2 separate regions of the Homo sapiens genome follow, and region 2 is linked to region 1. The links are contacts of gene promoters, found by promoter capture Hi-C in blood cells and fetal thymus (Javierre and others, 2016). All regions are on one chromosome and are shown on one strand. The core of a region is centred on a gene start or on the middle of the fragment in contact, and the rest is flanking DNA. Distances in the headings are between cores, read along the strand shown. Region 1 holds the start of SHF (Src homology 2 domain containing F). Region 2 overlaps BLOC1S6 (biogenesis of lysosomal organelles complex 1 subunit 6).

What was found. Contacts are between HindIII fragments. The CHiCAGO score rates a contact against its expected background, and 5 or more counts as called.
Region 2: a fragment that was not itself captured here is called in contact with the fragment with the promoter of SHF in region 1 in 1 of 17 cell types (erythroblasts); the score reaches 6.0 in erythroblasts.

Annotation. Positions count from the first base shown.
Region 1 is chr15:45,185,349-45,190,573 of GRCh38, forward strand. It overlaps SHF (Src homology 2 domain containing F), which reads right to left and starts at 2,618. Exons shown (of 7, transcript NM_001394037.1): 1 at 2,106-2,618. The coding sequence starts at 2,603. LOC124903481 (a long non-coding RNA gene) reads left to right here. Exons shown (of 2, transcript XR_007064608.1): 1 at 1-1,110; 2 at 2,767-3,470. RefSeq lists an enhancer at 1,046-1,598 and a silencer at 2,513-2,562. The HindIII fragment of the contact is 22,026 bases long and covers 1-5,225 here.
Region 2 is chr15:45,601,086-45,606,565 of GRCh38, forward strand. It overlaps BLOC1S6 (biogenesis of lysosomal organelles complex 1 subunit 6), which reads left to right. Exons shown (of 5, transcript NM_012388.4): 3 at 2,015-2,102; 4 at 4,343-4,429; 5 at 5,310-5,480. The coding sequence ends at 5,429. Among named protein-coding and RNA genes, the nearest start is that of BLOC1S6, 16 kb to the left of the region's middle. The HindIII fragment of the contact is 4,089 bases long and covers 2,187-5,480 here.

The DNA of each region.
Region 1 (5,225 bases), core at 1,368-3,867:
GCAGCATCTCTTAGGTTTAGGGTAAGGGACTCAGGTACCTTGTTTGAGCTTTTCCTAGGGGAAGACTCAGACCCCAAACTCTGCTCCTAAAGGGGTGGGGAGCTGCTCTCTCTAAATGGTGGGAGGCCCCAGGTCAGGGCCCAGAGAGATAGCATCCCTGCCCCGGGCCAACTCAGATGGCATCCTGGGTCTTTCTCATCACACCCATTAAAGAAACCACAGATTGTATGGCTCCTGGGAGAGCCTGCTGGATTTCATTCCTGTCCCTGTAGCTGACAAAGGAGTCAGACATCTCTTGGCCCCTAAGTCTGAACAGCACACAGATCACAGAGCTGACCCAAGCTGAGGCATGGAGGCCCTTGGCAAGAAGAGGCTGTGAGTCTCTGCATAGAACTGTGTGGGTGCACCCCTTCCTTGGGGGTGTCTGGGAAAATGTGCAAGGGAAGCTGTGGCTAGGGGAGTCTCCGACCCTCACGCCACCCTGATAATGGACAGTCACCATTCAGGACATATTTATGTACCCTTTTTTATGTCAAGCATTGTGTCAGGCACTTGGGAGACACAAGAAGACATGGTCTGTGTCCTGGAGGAGCCCATGGCTTGGTGGGCAGCCTGTTAGGGCATCCAAGCCACTGTAGAGAGGAGAAGGGCCAAAGACAGCTCAGGCCCATGTTGCCTGTGCCAAACAGGCAGTGGTTAGAGAGGAGGAGACTGACTGGTCAGTGGGAAGAACAGGGCCTATCCCTCTCCTCTGTCTCACTGTCACTACCTCCATCACATCACACAATAGCAGGGGACAAGAAGCAGACGAGCACAGCCTTGGAGAAGTGCCCTTGAACCTTCCTCTGCAGAATAAGTATCCTGGCCCAGGATGGGCAGCCATGCCCCATGGCAAAAACTAGGGGAAAAATAATTTGCATTCCTGAGGCTTCTGCTCTGACCCTGACAGATCTCTCTCATCCAGGAAATCTGGCGGAACGGCGCTCTCTCAGCTAAAAAGCCTCAATCCTGGAGCCAACGGATTCGGAAAGCAACTTTGCACTCCAATCAAATAAAAATGTTCTTCTCTGCTGAGGAGAAGGGGGCAGGCCCCAGAACTGAGCTCTCGGGGTGAGTGAAGAAGGACAGCAGAGCCAAGGCAGCCCACAGAGTCATCATCACAGAATTTAGGGGCCTGGGATGGCTTTCAGCTCTCACTCTGCCAGGGAGGGATAAGGCCAACCCGAATCAGGGCAGGGCCCTGAGGCATGGTGGATTTCCTGTTCTCCTCCCTATCCTGGTGCCTGCAGACCCAGGAAAAGCTCCAGCCTCCCTCAGAATGGACCAGGGGGAGAGGGAGGCCAGGAGGAGAGGAGGAATGGGCTCAGCTGCTTAGCCCCATGTGGGCAACAGGTCCTGAGCACTGACTATCCTCATACCTGAGAGGACGAGGGAAGGAGGGAGGAGTGGGCCTGGACCCCACGAAGCCCCCTTGGCAAGAGCTGTAAGCTGCCTGTCTTCGCCTCCTGAGAACAACAGCCTATAGGGCAAAGGCCAGCTCGTGCTGTGTCCGCAAGGAGAAACCCGTCTTCACCTCCTTTCTGGGGCTTCAGCACCTGCAAGGATGCTTAGGCTGGAGAAACAGGAGGAGGAAGAGGAGGAGGAAGCAAAGAGGCAACAGGAGGGAAGAGCTTTGTGCTGGCTATGCCCAGGGGGAAGGGTCAGAGATCAAAGGGCACTGAGCCGCTGCTTCCAGAGGGGCAGAAAGGCCATCAACCAGTGGGGGTTGGGAGGTGCGCCTCAATTCCCGTTAGCAAAAGGCTCATGGATCAGGCTAGAGGGGGCTACGAAGTGGAGAGCCAGCCCGGGAGGGGGAGGGTCACCAGTTCTGGGGCCATTACAAAGGATAGGGCAGAGGGGCAGAGTTTGGGGCTTCCGTCTCAGATTAGTCGGTTGAGAATCTGAACAAAGGTGGGTGAAGGCTCGGAACCCCGGGGTCAGGGGCTCGCGTCTGCCAGAAGCTGAGACACCGAGGGGCCCGGGCCAGGCCACCTTTGTCCCTCTCGCAGCCTCCAGACCCCTGACCGCCTTCCCTCCTGGCCATCCCGGCCCGGCGCGGCACTCACCCTATCGCTGCTGGCGGGGGGTCCGGAGATCCGCTCATCAGCAGGCGGCGCCGGGGGCCCCGGGGTCTCGACCCGAATAAGGCGGTGTGGGGGAGAGCCGTGGCGCGGGGGCGGCGTGGGTCCGGGGGCGACAGGGGTGGCGAGGGCGGCGGAGCCGGACGACCCCCCGGAGTAGGGGTCTTCGAAGTCGCGCTCCCGCTGCAGCCTGTAGGCGGCCAGGATGTCCGGGGGCGGCGCGGGGGGCGCGGCCGGAGAGGGCGCAGGGGGGCGGTAGTCGGGCTCGGGGGGCGCCGGCTTGCTGCCCCCTCCGCCGCCGCCCCCCCCGCGGAAGCCCAGGTGCTCCCGGAGCCACTTGGCTACTCCGCCGCTGCCGCCCCCTCCTGGGCCGGCTCCCGCACCCCCGGCGCCCCGGCGGGACCCCCCCGGGCCGCCCCCAGCGCTCCCCTGCGTTCGCGGCCCCGGGCGGGAGCCAGCCGGAGGAGCTCCGCTCAGTAACATGGGGCCAGCCAGACTGAGCGAGGGGAGCGCAGCGGCGGGTGGGGGGCGGGGGCGGGGGTGGGGAGGGGGGCGGGGCTCCGCCGGGCGGGGAGGGGGCGGGGCGCTTCAGTAACAAGGGAGAGGCGGGGCTCCGCTCCCTAACAGGGTCTTCCTCCTCCCGTAGCTCGGAAGAGTGTACGCGGGCTTCCAGCCGGTATGCACAGGCAAGAAGTGAAGTGGGCAGCCCTGGGGCAGAGGATGCGACTACTGGACTGAGGTTGAATCCTTTACGTGTCGCCACGCGGTCCCCTGTGGGGAGCGCATCCATCCCCATCTGTTCTTTTCCCCAGCTCCCAGCTCGTGCGAGACGCAAAGAGGGGAGCCCCCAGACTCCTGACTCTAGGGAGCCTTACGCCTCTCCTCTTCCCTCTCCCAGGATCTCGCAACTGGGAAACTATAATCTAGGAGGAAAATCTAGGCGGGCAAGAAAAGGGGCTAGGTTCTGTAAGATGTGTCTGTAAGCCTCCTCCTCCCGTGCTACCTTGGGAGCCCCACAACCTCCTCCCATCCAACCGTACGCACTGCACATACCCGAACCTACGTTACTTCCCGATCCAGGCAAACACATCTCACATCACATACAAACAACTCCCTAGAGACGCCCACTTCTCCCGTGTCGTTTTCACACACGCCCTTCTCACACGCAAACAGCCCTCGCTCAAACATCCCCCACCCACGGGAGCACCTGCTCCAAACGGGCCCACATGGCCCTGACGATAGCATGCGCACGCACGCAGAAATCCCTTCCAGCCACATCCCGGGCTTCATTGTCAATCAGATTAGTAACAGAATGGAAACAGACAAGTCAATAAATCAAGTCTAGAAACAGTCCCAGTGTTGTCTATCACAAACTCCTTATCCTCTTGAGGCTCAGATGCTCAAGTGCTAGGCATTTTTGTCTTAGAAATAAAGCCAGTTCCGGCTGGGCGCGGTGGCTCACGCCTGTAATCCCAGCACTTTGGGAGGCCGAAACGGGAGGATCACGAGGTCAGGAGATCGAGACCATCCTGGCTAACACGGTGAAACCCCGTCTCTACCAAAAATACAAAAAAATTAGTCGGGTGTGGTGGCGGGCACCTGTAGTCCCAGCTACTCGGGAGGCTGAGGCAGGAGAATCGCTTGAACCCAGGAGGCAGAGGTTGCATTGAGCTGAGATTGCGCGACTGCACTCCAGCCAGGGCGACAGAGTGAGACTCCGTCTCAAAAAAAAAAAAAAAAGAAAAAGAAAAAAGAAAAGGAAAGAAATAAAGCCAGTTCCTCACCATAAATGTAGGCCTGAAGCCAACACCAACACATTTGCTCTTGGCTCTGCTGGGAAAGCAGCTGTCTCACCTCACTTTACCCCACCCCCTTTCCCCCACTGCCTCAGTGTCTCCGCACTCCTAGGTTCATGTCTGCCTTTTTTTTTTTTTTTTTTTTTTTGAGACGGAGTCTCACTCCGTCGCTGGAGTACAGTGGCACGATTTCAGCTTACAGCAACCTCCACCTCCCGGGTTCAAGCAATGCTCCCAGCTCAGCCTCCCTAGTAGCTGGGATTACAAGCGTGCGCCACCACACCTGGTTAATTTTTTGTATTTTTAGTAGAGATGGAGTTTCACCGTGTTGGCTAGGCTGGTCTCGAACTCCTGACCTCAAGTGATTCCCCACCTCGGCCTTCCAAAATGCTGGGATTACAGGTGTGAGCCAACGGCACCTGGCCATATCTGCCTTTTGAGGGCGCAAAAAGCCAAGAGGCCCCAAAGGAAAGGAGTTCAAAGCGGGGGGTGTAAAGAAGGATGTAATGGCAAAACTGTGAATCTCCTGGGATTCCCAGGGCCCCGAGTCTCAAAATATTTGTTGAGTTCCTGCTTTGTGCAAATTCTAGTTGGGCGAGGTGGCTCATGCTTGTAGTCCCAGGTACCTGGGAGGTTGAGGTGGGAGAATTGCTTGAGCCCAGAAGTTCAAGGCTGCAGCGAGCTATGATTGTGCCACTGGTCAGACAGTGCTGCTTGTATTTAGGACAGTGCTTCTGATCAAGCCAGTGCTGCTTGTATTTAGGACAGTGCTTCTCAAACTTTAATGTGGACACTAATCTCCTGGGGATCTTGGTAAGTTACAGATTCTGACTCTCTAGGTCTAGCTGGGGTGGGGTCCCAGGTGATACAGATACTGCTGGTCCCAGACCACATGTTGAGTAGCTGGACTGTAGGAGATACTGGAGAATCTGATGTTGAACTTGGTTTTATGAAGTATAATAGAGAAAATAACGTGCATATTTTTAAAATGTGCAGTTAAATTGACTAATGGTGCAAAACGAAGCTGGACATAGAGATGATAAATAGAGAAGAATGGTCCAGTTAATGTATATCAGAGAGTCTCCACAGTCACCAGGTGTGAGGGCATGGATAGGTAACTAATAAGAAATCCAATAGTTGTGGGCTGTAGCCAGGTATTTGGGGAAGGTACTCAATGCTACTGATACTTGCTTTCATGATCTCTGGAAAGGGCGTGATAATCATTGTGTGAGGATTAAGGGAGGTGATGAATATGAAAAAGGTTTGAAAACTGTAAAATGCTTACAGTGGAAGGTGTGACATGAGTTAA
Region 2 (5,480 bases), core at 2,981-5,480, 420 kb after region 1:
TTAATTTATAAGTTAGGCATAGTAAGAGATTAACAACAATAACTAATAATAAAATACAGCAGTTATACTATAATAAAAGTTAAGTGAATGTGGTCTCTCTTTCAAAATATCTTATTGTGCTGTACTTACCCTTCTTGTGATGATATAGCACAGCTGCAGTTGACTGTACGTGCCTAAAACTGAAGAAAGCAAAACTGCAGATAAAGGAGGACTGACATATTTTCTGGAAGAGACTGTGGGGAATTGGTATCACGTCTTCCTTAAATGTTTGGTAAAAATTACCAGTGAAGCCGTTTGGTCCCGGTACTGTCTTTTTTGGAAGGTTATTACTTACTGATTCAATTTGTCTAATAAATATAGGCCTACATAAACTTTTTGTTTCTCCTTGTATAAGTTTTGGTAGTTTGTATCTTTCAAAGAATTAGTCCATTCCATCCACATTATCAAATTTATGAGCACTGAGTTGTTGAAAATATTCATTTATTATCCTTTTAATGTCATGGGATCAGTGGTGATTACTGCTCTTTCATGAATAATACTAATACTTTGGGGTTTTTTTTTCTTGATTGGTCTCACTAGAGGTTTATCAATTTTATTGATCTTTTAAAGAACCACCTTTTTGTCTCATTGATTTTTTTGTTTTCCCCCTTCTATTGTTTTCTAGTTCTAACAGCCTATTTTTGCTGTCCTGTGTATCTCAGATGGTTGACTTGCTGGGTTTTCCTCTCATCCATTCTGTATTTCACTTTCTGTGATCTCTAGTCCAAGCTGGAGGGACAAAGTTATTTATTTATTTATTTATTTATATTTGTAGAGATGGGGTCTCACCCTGTCACATAGGCTGTAGTACAGTGGTGTGATTATAACTCACTGCAGTTTCTAACTCCTGGGCTCAAGCAATCCTTCTGCCTCAGCCTCCCAAGTAGCTCGGACCACAGGTGTGTGCCACCACACCCAGCTCATTTTTTGTGTGTGTGTGTGTTTTTTTTGTTTTTGTAGAGGGTCTTGCTTTGTTGTCCACGCTGGTCTTGAATTCCTGGCTTCAAGCAATCCTCCTTCCTTGGCCTCTCAAAGTGCTGGGATTATAGGCATGAACCACTGTGCCCAGCCAAGAGACAAATTTATGACCTGTAGGGTATGCCAGACTCAGTGCTGGATAGTAGAGATGTTGTAATTGCCCTGAGCCTGTTCGTTGTTATTTCTTTTTTTTTTTTATCATTATTCTCTAGATAGCACAGTTTTACAAGCAAATGACATATTTTTCTTTGTAGCATTCTTTAAAATATTCAGGTAGGTGACCCTTTTAATGTCACTTATTCCTGTGATCCTAACATTGATTGATGTGTAAAGAAATATCAAGGAAGTTGGCTTCTCTTCCTCAATGAGTTTTGAATTAGAATTGTAATGAGAAACATTAGAAATTATCTGGTCTGATCTTCTCACTTTGTAAATGAGGAGATTTAGGCCAGAGAAATAAACTGAATTTCTAAGATCATATAGCTAACTGGCTGTTGGCCGGGGAAAGCTATGATTTCCAGTCCTGTGCTTTTTTCATCTTACTGCTTAATTATTCTTTTTGACTTACTATCCCTTGATACTTCATCTTCCTCACCTCTAATCTGAAAAACCATTGTTCCTCATTTCCTTTATGGGAATGTTGCAATTTTAAGATATATAAAACATTGAACTTCTTGGGCAAAATACTATAAAAAACTTCTTTTTTGGAATAATACAGAGAGTTGTTAAAAGTAACAAGTAATAAAATACTTTTAAATGATTGGATTATTTTAGTTATTAGAAATTGAAGCAAGAATAAAAGACACATTTAGTTATCAGAATGTGGCTTTAGAATATTATTTTGAAAAATCTTATTCTATATTAAATAAACCTTAGAGAGTTAATACATTTCCTACTTAACTAACTGTTACCATTAACCAAGATGAATATGATTCCTTTTAATGGACCGGCACTTTAAATATGTAGAGTTTGTCTTGGCTGTGTGTTTTTGTTTCAGACAGAACCAAGTTGTATTGTTAGACACACTGGAACAAGAGATTTCAAAATTTAAAGAATGTCATTCTATGTTGGATATTAATGCTTTGGTAAGTATGATTTAGTTGATGTAATTTAATGACATCTTGTCTTAGCAATAGCTAAGACTTAGCTAAGCAATAGCTAAGATTTTAAGCTTAGAATTTGTCTTTTTAACAAGAAACCTTGATTGAACTTCTGTTGTGTTGAATTGTTATCTTTCAAATGTTGAATTTATAGTAGGAAATTTAACTTATTTGTGCATTTGGAATAGATCTGCTTATAATTGAAGACTTAGAAAAGAGAACTTAGACTTGGCATAGTGGCTCATACCTGTAATCCCAGCACTTTGGGAGGCTGAGGCAGGAGGATTGCTTGAGCCTAGCAGTTCAAGACCAGCCTGGGCTACATAGTGAGAACCCATCTCTACAAAAAGTAATTTAGAAAAATAGTTGGGCATGGTGGCACATGCCTGTAGTCCCAGCTTTTCCAGAAACTGAGGTGGAAGGATTGCTTGAGCCCAGGAGGTCGAGGCCACAAGTGAGCTGTGATTGTGCCACTGTACTCCAGCCTGGGTGACAAAGGGAGACCCTGTCTCAAAAAACAAACAAACAAAAAGAGCGAACTGGAAGTAATGAACCTTTGGGGTACCATTTTTTTTTTCTTTAAAGAAAGTGCATTTCTCTTTACCAATTACATGGTTTCTTAAATTAGCATTTTATTTAATTATATGGCATATTCATAATGCTATAATAAATTAATGCTATAGGCTGAAGTGGACGCTTTGAGAATGATCAGTTATATCTTTCAATATAAATAGTTGAACAGTTGAATTTCATCAGAAGTTCTATAGCTTTTTGATGAGAGGAAGTGATACTCTGTATTATAAGAAACAAGGAATTAACCAAAAAAAGGAACTTGTTTTGCTACCTTTATTTTCTGATGAACATTAAAAATAGTTTTGTTTGTGGGCAGGGCACAGTGACTTATGACTGTAATCCCAGCACTTTGGGAGGCTGAGGTAGGAGGATTACTTGAGGCGTGCAGTTTAAGACCAACCTGGCCAACGTAGCAAGACCCCATCTCTATTAAGAAAAAAAGAAGCTGGGTTTACATGACTGTAGCCATTCATGCATACCTCAAAAAAATGGACTTTTCTTTGGACAAAGATGGTTTACTAATGTTTTCCATTTGTAACAATTAAAAACAAAGTTCATATTCTCTGGCATTAGAGGCCTGTGGAAGTAAATACAGAGCCATCTGCCCAGTAGTTCCTGGTTTCTTGCGAGGGAGGTGGGCAAGGCTACACTGACCTATTTTTGTGTTCCCCACTGAAATCCTGTTGCAACAGAAGGAATATTTGTTGAATGAATGAATGTTGAATGAATTAACCAAGCAGATGTAATACTGTTGCTTTAGTCTGAAGGGGCAGGATGGAGTCTTCCTCTTTTTTCTTCTCTTAGTCAAGAGTAGTTTTTATTATCATCTGGGAACTGAAAACTGGAAGGCCCAGGATATGTAAAAAGGCACTGTAACTTCTGAGCTAATCAGACAATGACTTTACTTGCAGCTACATTAAGGCTGTGAATCTCTCTACTGACATTTCTTTCATTTCTTCTCTTTCTGTAACCTTGTCTGAAAATAGGGTGCTTTTCTCCTTCTCTCTGACATCTCTAGGCTTGCATCATCCTCCCATCTTCTCCTGACATAAGACTTCATTTTAGATTATGCAGGTTGGCTGAGTTGTAAAGTCTGTACTTAAGACTCCTCAAGAAGGAAAGTGTCCTCACAGAGATCATTCTGCTTAGTCTGACTAAAGCAGCCCAAGGAATGGATTAAACTTGTCCACAGTCCTTTCTGTCCAGGGCTCTGTGGCCACAGTTTGGGTTTTCCTTATGGGCAGACACTTCACTTAAACTGTTTCATGTGCTCTGGCTCAGTCTGTCTCTTGTAAAGGCAGAGAGAATGTTTTACTTTTCTTAAATGAAACTGATAGCATTATTAGATAGTCTTATCTGAAATTTTAGAATTATATGTTTTTAAAGCAAAATATTGTCTATGCCCATCTTAATATAAATGTCTATTTTATGTTTAGTAACACTTTTGTCAATCTGAACTAAATCAAATGTCTTTCAAATCCTACTAACAATATAAGGAAATCTTTATTTTGGAATTAAAATGTGAAGATAAGGCTGTAAAAATTTTGACCAATTTAGGAAGCACAAACTATCATTTATATATTGCCTTATTTATTCATTTTGATATTTTAGTCTATTTTAACTTGACTTTTCATTTATTTTTCCATGTTAAGTTTGCTGAGGCTAAACACTATCATGCCAAGTTGGTGAATATAAGAAAAGAGATGCTGATGCTTCATGAAAAAACATCAAAGTTAAAAGTGAGTTGAAAATTCTTTCACATTCTTTACAAAAGTAGAGGTTTAATTGTTTTTTGTTGTTTTTTTTTTTTTTCAGTATTCTTTTTTTTTTTGAGACGGAGTTTTGCTCTTGCCGCCCAGGCTGGAGTGCAATGGTGCAATCTCGGCTCACTGCAACCTCTGCCTCCGGGGTTGAAGCGATTCTTCTGCCTCAGCTCCCCAGGTAGCTGGGATTACAGGTGCCCGCCACCACACCCACCTAATTTTTGTATTTTTAGTAGAGACAGCGTTCTACCATGTTGGCCAGGCTGGTCTCAAACTCCTGACCTCAGGTGATACGCCTGCCTTGGCCTCCCAAAGTGCTGAGATTACAGGCGTGAGCCACTGTGCCCGGCCAGTATTCATATTTTGACTTTTATACCCTCATATACAATAGCATAATTCATTCATGGTACATTGTTTTCTTTTTAAAAATGTCATTGTTTAAGAAATATTAGAGACAGGGTCTCACTACGTTTCCGAGGCTGGTCTTAAACTCCTGAGCTCAAGCAGCCCTCTGGCCTCGACCTCCCTAAGTGCTGGGATTACAGACATGAGCCACTGCGTGCAGCCTTAAAAATATCATTTTTTTTTCAACTGCACTCTGAGCATTTTTACTAATAGCTGGGCTGATAGGCTTAGATTCTCTGGATATGCCCTACAGTTCTCATTTAATAAGAGTTTAGAGCAACAAATTTTTTTGAATCAAAGGGACCTTAAATTATCCCAAATTTAAATGTCCAAGATGAAGTTTATTAGTGTGAATGAATTACCTCAAAGCAGAGCACTGTTATTTTCAAATTAGGCTAAACCTGTAACCCCTGATTGCTCTCTTGGTTTTTAAATTTTTTTTTTAACACAGAAAAGAGCACTTAAACTGCAGCAGAAGAGGCAAAAAGAAGAGTTGGAAAGGGAGCAGCAACGAGAGAAGGAGTTTGAAAGAGAAAAGCAGTTAACTGCCAGACCAGCCAAAAGGATGTGAAAAGTTGTGTTTGTGTGTTTTCTTCTCCTGTCCCATATTTGGGTTATGATG